Linked DNA regions of Homo sapiens: regions 1 and 2 are each linked to region 3. Evidence: promoter capture Hi-C in 16 types of primary human blood cells and fetal thymus (Javierre and others, 2016). All regions are on one chromosome and are shown on one strand. Each heading gives the region's core, a stretch centred on a gene start or on the middle of the fragment in contact. The rest is flanking DNA. Distances are from core to core; before and after follow the strand shown.

Region 1 (2,700 bases), core at 170-2,669, 330 kb after region 3:
AGCTACTTGGAAGGCTGAGGCACGAGAATTGCTTGAACCCGGGAGGCAGAGGTTGCAGTGAGCTGAGATGGTGCCACTGCACTCCAGCCTGGGCAACAGAGCAAGACTCTTTCTCAAAAGAAAGAAAAGAAAGAAAAAAAAAAGAAAAGGAAAGGAAAGAAAGAAAGAGAGAGAGAAAGTTAGTTTATAATTAGAAGAAATTCTTTAACCTGAAAAAAAATGGAAAGATATTCAGTGGTCTAATTGCCAAAAGTGTACCAGCCTAGATGGTCTTAAGGGCTAGTCCTATCACCTACAATGAAAGGATAATTCCCAGTCATCTTAACTGTCCCAAGGCATAGAAAACAGTGGGAAGCTTCCAAATTCATTAAATACTATAATATAACACTGATTCCAAAGCCAGATAAGGATGATCCCCCACAAAGAGATACATAGGCCAGGAGTTAGCAAACTATGGCGTGTGGCCACATCCAGTCTGCCATCTGTTTTTATTTGACCCACGAACTAAGAATAGTTTACATTTTTAAAATGGTTGAAAAGAATTCAAAGAATAATAATATTTTGGGACATGTTAAAATTATGTGAAATTCAAATTTCAGCATCCATAAATAAAGTTTTATTGAAACACAGCCAACACGCATTCTTTTATGTGTTTATTATGGCTGCTTCCATACTACACCAGCAGAGTTGAGTAGTTGCAAAGGAGATTGTATGGTCCACAAAGTCCAATATTCACTACTGGGACCTTTACAGAAAAAGTCTGCCACATCCTGATATAGTCCAATCTCACTTATAAATATAAATGTTAAAAATCTTAAACTTCAGTCAATTTTAAAGCAATGCATTAAAAGAAAAAAAAATGCGACCAAGTAGGATTTTATCCTTAGAGTGCCAGGATGATTTATCTTTAAGAAACCATCTATTGTAATTTGCTGTTCAAACAGATTAAAGGAGATGAAAAAAATAATCATCCTGACATAGTCTACAATATATATTTGATAAAACTGAATACCCATGACTGATTTAAAAAGTTTTCAAGAAAGCTAAAAATAGAATGTGTTTTAGTCAATATCCAATTTTAAAAAACTGAGACCATGTTAAATACTGAAAACTCAACAAGCTGAATATAGGGAATTGATTCCAAAAGTGATGGAGGAGTAAAACAGGGAAGCTGAGGTTACCAAGCAATTAATAATTCCAGGAAGTTGCTATGGAACTTTGTCCCTATGGAAATTTGTCTTGGGAATCAGTGCTGCCAGCTTTCAAGATTCTAAGAGTTCACAGTCTCATCAAAACTGTGAGACTCTGGGAGACAAAAATAACTCACCACTGCAGATGCCACCATCAAAGCCTGATCCCACCAGTACCACACTAGCAAGACTTCTGACATGCTTGCTGGAACTGCACTGCTACACCAGGAACCCTGAAGCGGTACTCATCTTCTGCTATCACTGCCACTACTGAAAACATTACCAGAAACCAAGATTATGGAAAAATATATAATTTATTCCTTCCATCCAACTTTAACCAATACCACCCAGTGACAAAATCTAATCAGAAGCCATCTGACAATGGAAATGATAAATGTAGTTTGCAGACTTCTAACCTTCTGAAAAACAAGGAACACAGAAGGGTGGGAATAGAGCTGAGAGCAAATAAGCAAATGACTGGCTCGGGTTAAACTTTTACAACTTGATACAGCATATGTAGCAAACATTTATTGGAAACATTAGAGGCATTCTTAATAAAGAAATGAATACAAGTAACCATTCTTGTATTCAGTGAATACAAGATCACTGCTACTCTTCAACTGTATTGTATTGAAGATCCTTGTTAGTAAAGTGAGTCAAGAAATACATATAAGAGGCTATCTCACATCTAGAATCAGTCATTTTTCTAAGGGGCATTGGTTCTTCAGAGAGAATATTATTTATCCACCAAGATCTTGGATAATGTCACTAATTTTTAGTTACTTAAGAAATATGTGAACACATTTCTATCATCTTTTTAAAAATCAGTGTAAAAGTATAGAGATAGAGAGAGTGATGTCAGCAAAGTGGTGGACTAGGAAATTCCAAACTCTCTCTTTCCCCCAACTTAGAGTAATAAAAAAACAGCCAAACAAACAAAAAAAAACCCAAATGGTTGAATTAACCTTATAGGGACTCTGGAAAACAGTCAGAGTTTTATAACAACCAATCAAATGCCCAATGAAGAAAAAGCCACTTTTGAAATGGTAGGAAAAGTTCCATGGCATTTTTCTTGCCCTTGCCCCATCCCCTCCTCATCCCAACAGAAAGCTTGTTTAGAGGAGGCAGGAGTTCACTTCTCAGTTCCCTCTCTTGAATGGGAGGGAACATAACAGATCTTATTTGCAATATTCTAATCTGTCTTAGGAGTCCATGAAGAACTGGTCTCTATTTCACTTAATTCAGATCTCAAGTGGGAAAGTGCCACTACTATGAACCCAAAGCTATCAAAATAAAGAAAATAATAAAGATTAGACCAGAGATAAAATAGAGAAAATTAATGAACCAAAAAGTTGATTACTTAAAAGGATCAACGAAATTGGCAAATTTAGTTAGAGTGGTTATGGAAAAAAAGACAGAGTGCTCAAATTACTAAAATTGGAAATGAAAATGAGGACACTACAACCAATTTTTCAGAAATGAATAGAAGAGACTACTACAAACAAATTGG
Region 2 (2,773 bases), core at 179-2,678, 420 kb after region 3:
TTAATTAAAATTAAGTTCTCTTATCGTTTTACCAAATTATACTAAAACTTTCTACAGCTTGGTACAAAAAAGCTTCTTTTAGCCTTTTAAAATTGTAACTAAATTGTAAATTTAAATTTATAACTCAAATTGTAATAAATCTATCATTTTTACCTTTATACAAAGCAAAGAAATTGAGGCCTGGAGTCTCTTGCATTTCTTTGTAATCGAATTTAGATTGATTTTTTTCCTCCTTGGAAGTCTTTGATATCCCCCCAGGAGATTTGCAGTAAGCTGATGTCCACTTGTGCTGACAACCTTTCGCCATTTGAAAAGCAATTCCTAGCTTGCTTCTGAGAGCTGGTAGAAATTGAATGTCTGCCTCGGGACACCAAATTATCATGCAACGCAAACTGTCCATCATGAACTGGGTGTTTTCTGAACCACCAAATATAAAACTGAATTACCTAACAGGAATTCATTATAAAACAGAAGTGGAATATACAAAAATGGGTCTGAACAGGTCCAGAATACACAAGTATGCTGCATAAGCAGGGGACTTTGTAATTCCAGCTACTCTTCCACCTCTCCCTTGCTCTACACCGACGGCCTCATGAGGAATTCCCTATGAACAGTTAATGGAGGAAGAAAGAGCATGGGCCTGGATTTGCATGCTATGTCAGCCCCAGATGAATGAGAATGGCCTCTCCACTACAGTGAACCTCACTCAGTAGAGGCTTCAAAGTCAGTAATGAAAGAAAATCTCTCCAGCAGGCAGAACTTGAAGCAGCATATCTAGTTGTACACTTTGTTTGGAAGGAGAGATTGCCTGAGGTACATATCTACATTGAATCATGGGCAGCATGTTAACAGGTTGACCACCTTGTCAGTCACTTAAATGAAAAACAATATTGGAAAAGCAGTAAAAAGGAAGTCTGGGAAAGAACTACATAAAGTGGTCACAGTATTAAGATATTTGTGTCTCAAGTAAACGCTCTTTAAAATACTAGGGTTTCCTAATCCCAGGGTTCCTCAACCATGACATAAACTTACTGTATGCAGAGCATCCAGATTGGCTGCTCCGTATCACCCAGTGGAACTTAGAGGCAAGGAGAACTAATGCAAATATGAAGTTCATGCTACCTGCTGGGCCAAGTGTAATAAAGTCCTTTGTCTCTGACCCAGGAGTCTCATGTTTTTTGTCAGTACCCATGAAACTAACAGACAAACTTATTAGTTTAGAAGTGGCATAAAATCTCAGGCTTTTCATAGTTGTTGGAAGTTCTGGCAATGAGGACGAGATGCTGACAGAGATAGGGCTTTCGGGAAGAGGAAAGTACAATGGCCCTTTTGCAGGCCTGTTTGGAAGATCTGAGAGACTCCTGGGGATCCAGTAGTGACTGTTCTCATCCAAGTAGTGAGTGAGAGGTGGAGAATGAGGATACCCACTGTTCTACCTGTTAATGGGGCTGAGGGGTATTAGTTTGGATTGAAGCAAGCTGTCCAAATGGTATTTGTTCTTTCTCCTCTGGGCAGAAGGAGGGAGGGCTATTATTATGATGAAACAGTAAGCCCCATGGCACAAGCCAACAAGCAATAAGGCAGTGGCCACTAGTTAAGGGGTCCCCACAGCTAAAATAAATGGTGTTGGTAGTGAGGATATAGATGTTTGGGTAGACCACAAACAGAATTTGTTTACGTGAACCTGGATCACCACCAGTCACTTGAAACTGAAAGTAAGCGCAGATTGCTTACTGACACAGATCCGTACTCAAGAGCCTGGTAAAATCATTGCTCTCTGCCCCACAGACAAACATTATCTTTATCTCCCTAGGCTACTAATTTCTATAGTAAGTGTGAAATATCTCTTAGATGTCTTTGTGAAGATGTCAAATAAGCACTTAGATTTATAAGTCTAGAATTCTGGGGAGAAGTCAGGGCAAGAAATAGAGATTTGGGAGTACTTGGTATATAACTAACATTTATTGGGTACTTACTACATGCCAGGCATATCTAAGTAGTTTATGAATATTTTCTGAGTTACACTCCCAACATCCCTGTGAGGTTGGCACTGTGTTATTGTCTTCATTTTAAAGATAAAGAAACAGAAAATTTCCTCAAGGCCACATAGCTACTGGGAGCAAAACCAGAAGAAAAACCCAGGCAGGTTGACCCCAGAGCCCATGTTCATTACTACTATGCTGTGCTATCTGGTACACAGACGGTATTTAAAGCCTTGGGATGAGATGAGGATACCCATGGGTAGTATGTAGAAAAGAGAAAAGGGGACTGAAGTACTGCAACATTTAATGATGTCCTTCAGAATTTCCAATTCCTCCTGTCTGGTTCTGTATTTAATAGACAAATGCTAATTTATCAATTTGAACTGTCCCATCAGGAATATACCTGTACAAATGACCAACTCCAGTTCCCAAACTAGATCTATCAGTTGTTATAAATTGATAAATTAACATTCTTATTTATAATTGCTCTTTTATATGTATGGCTGGTTTTATTCCATTTCCAGAATGTTATTTCCCTTTGATTACTTAATGAAGACAGAATGTCTGGACCAGTAATGACCTCCTAAGATACTGACACTCTGTGAGGTACTATCTGAGGCAAACAGGACTTCTTGGACATCTCTTTGACCACAATATGGCACCATACCAGGAATCTGAGGAAGCAGAGGTTCCACATGGTTTGCTGAAAATTCAAGGGGAAAACAACATCTGAACTGAAAATGCTTAACTCAGAGCTCTCCTCAAATAGTAAATACTATTTCAGAAACGGT
Region 3 (2,857 bases), core at 47-2,546:
GGATGTATTGTTGACCCTACAGGCTCAGACAGCAACAAGGCCAGAATCACATAGGTTGTAAGTTGCTGAATGGGAGCTGCAAGTCCAAGTCTTTGACTCTAAATCCAGCGCTCTGTCCAGAGCCCCGCTGCTGCCTCTGTTGGCAGCTGAAGCTGTCAGTCTGCTGCCCCCTGCCCAGTTCAGACAGGGTGGCTGGAAATGGACCAAAGGATGGAAAAAGAGAATAAGAGCGGACTTGAAGGGAACTGAAAGTATTTGTTAAGGGGAAAGCAGAAGGAAGAAAGAAAGAGGCATGAACCCTGGGGCCTGGCCTTGAAGCACAGTGTTCCAGGGGAGGGGGGATGCCGCTGTCCCCACCCCTCCATGGGGGCCTAAGCAGATCCAGAGCTGCCTGGCCTTCCTGGAGGGTGGCGTCCAAGCATGGATGGGAAGGCAGCAAAAATAGGCCCATGTCACTTCTGGGAGAAGACAAAAGAGGGAAGAGAGGACTACTATAGAAAAGTAGAAAAAGAGGAAGGGAGGGAATCTAGGCATACAGATCGGAAATGTGGAGCAAAACAAAATTTTTTTTTTTTTTTTTGAGACACAGTGTCGCTCTGTCACCTAGGCTGGAGTGCAGTGGCGTGATCTTGGCTTACCGCAACCTCCACCTCCTTTGCTCAAGTGATTCCCCTGCCTCAGCCTCCCAAGTAGCTTGGATTACAGGTGCACGCCACCCAGCCTGGCTAATTTCTCTATTTTTAGTAGAGGTGGGGATTCACCATATTGGCCAGGCTAGTCTCGATCTCCTGATCTCAAGTGATCTGCCTGCTTCAGTCTCCCAAAGTGTTGGGATTACAGGCGTGAGCCACTGTGCCCCGTGTGAAACAAATTCTTATGAAACAAATTTAATTTACATGTGCTTAAACTTTGGTGTCAACTTGCATGGAATCCCCAGGCTTGCTAGATTTTTCTAGTGCCTCCAGCCCTTAGGTCTCTTCCTATGTTCTCTCAGCTACTCCTCCTTTCCTTCAACACTGTTAGCCGCTTATCCAGGGCCCTACGTTTCAGCCCACTCCTCCTCCAGCCCCTCTCCACTCCACCTCCACAATGTCTGTTGGAATGGAACAGTTGGGGATACTGGCTGTTTGGCCCCCATGGGGGTCTCTCCATATAGGATTCAGAGAATTGGAAGACTTCTTGGGCTGAAGCAGAGAACGGGATGCAATTTTGAAACTGGCTTTGTGAGTCACTGTGAACTTCAAGCACCCTCCCACTTGAGGTAAGCTTCACCAGTTTGGCTTGTGGGAACTGTCAGACCAGCTCCAGGCGCTGGGGCTTTCTCAGTGGCCTTGTCAGCTCACAGCAGGCGTTAACAGCCTCTAATTGAGGAAACTGTGGCTGGACAGGTTGCAAGGCAGTTCTGCTCCCCATCGTCCTCTTGCTGACTGGGGACTGCTGAGCCCGTGCACGGCAGAGAGTCTGGTGGGGTGGAGGGGCTGGCCTGGCCCCTCTGTCCTGTGGAAATGCTGGGGCAAGTGGTCACCCTCATACTCCTCCTGCTCCTCAAGGTGTATCAGGGCAAAGGTAAGGAGGTCCTACCTGGCGTGGGGCGAGGGAGGGACTAGGAGCTGTGCCCCTCAGGGAGATCAGAGCCAGAGCCTCTGCTTGTGCCACATACACAGTCATCTGGAACTTGACTCCGAGCAGCTCCTGACAGCTCTGACAGTCTAAATCAGACAGGACAGGCTGGCAGTGCACTGGGAGGTCTGTGAGAGGGGTATCTGGCCCTGCCACCAGCAATCCAGGAAGTCTTGGGTGAGGAGATTCCTTCCCACTGGCTTCAATTTACCCTTCCGTGTAGTGGAGAGAGAAGCCTCCTTCCAGCCGCCTGTAAAGATGATGAAAATTGCATCCTCCAATTGTGGCATGAGAGAAGAGAAGCAGTCCCAAGGAAGTGGGTGGTTCTCGAGCTCAGAGACAGATGGATGGACCCCTGAGGCAGGAAAGCTGAGCCCAGGGAGGGGAGGGCGAGGCCAGCAGCCAGGAAGAAGCTGGAAGGCATGGTCCCTCATCTCCCCGGCTTCTTCAGCCATCCAGATGCCACAGGAGCCTGGAAATTATTAGGGACATGCAGGGTTGGGGCAGAAGAAGGAGACAATATGAGGAAGCTCCACAGCAAACCTAAAGCTGTCAGCCAGGCATGGAGCCATCTAACATTTACTCCTGGGGATCCCAGCTGAGGGCTGCTCCCCTCTTTCTCCAGTTCTGGGGTCCAGGATGCTCTGAAACCTGGATCCCGCATTTAATTTAATTGAATTAATTTATTTATTTCATTTTTAATTTTTATTTATTTATTTATTTTTTGAGACAGAGTCTCCTTCTGTCACCCAGGCTGGAGTGCAGTGGCGTGATCTTGGCTCACTACAAACTCTGCCTCCCGGGTTCAAGTGATTCTCATGCCTCAGCCTCCCGAGTAGGTGAAATTACAGACGTGCGCCACCATGCTTGGCTAATTTTTGTATTTTTAGTAGAGACCAGGTTTCACCATGTTGGCCAGGCTGGTCTTGAACTCCTGACCTCAGGTGATCTGCCCACCTTGGTCTCCCCCATCCAAAGTGCTGGGATTACAGGTGTGAGCCACCATGCCCAGCCAGGGTTCTGCATTTTAGATCAGTGACTCTGCAGGGGCTTCACGGAGGTGGAGAGCGTGGAATTAGAGGAGGGTACACTCTGGGCACAAAGAGGGGAAACTGAGGCATAGTGTTGTGTGGGTTCAGGGCCAGGTAGAAGCCCCATATGCAATAAAGTCCCATGCCCAGGTACTCAATTCAGTTACCGAGTCCCTGAGCATTCTTGTGTCCTTCAGGAAGACACA

The links. The method cuts DNA at HindIII sites, captures the fragments that hold promoters and counts their contacts. A CHiCAGO score of 5 or more calls a contact.
Region 1: the fragment with the promoter of CD84-AS1 here is called in contact with the fragment with the promoter of CD244 in region 3 in 11 of 17 cell types (erythroblasts, total CD8 T cells, fetal thymus and 8 more); the score reaches 9.7 in erythroblasts.
Region 2: a fragment that was not itself captured here is called in contact with the fragment with the promoter of CD244 in region 3 in 1 of 17 cell types (fetal thymus); the score reaches 6.3 in fetal thymus.

What each region holds. Positions count from the first base shown.
Region 1 is chr1:160,535,815-160,538,514 of GRCh38, reverse strand. CD84-AS1 (CD84 antisense RNA 1) reads right to left here and starts at 1,419. Exons shown (of 2, transcript NR_188634.1): 1 at 1,328-1,419. The HindIII fragment of the contact is 1,945 bases long and covers 358-2,302 here.
Region 2 is chr1:160,437,024-160,439,796 of GRCh38, reverse strand. LOC105371467 (a long non-coding RNA gene) reads left to right here and starts at 1,620. Exons shown (of 3, transcript XR_922202.3): 1 at 1,620-1,715; 2 at 2,507-2,773. The HindIII fragment of the contact is 2,708 bases long and covers 75-2,773 here.
Region 3 is chr1:160,861,326-160,864,182 of GRCh38, reverse strand. It overlaps CD244 (CD244 molecule), which reads left to right and starts at 1,296. Exons shown (of 9, transcript NM_016382.4): 1 at 1,296-1,566. The coding sequence starts at 1,506. RefSeq lists an enhancer at 1,431-1,480. The HindIII fragment of the contact is 2,100 bases long and covers 1,269-2,857 here.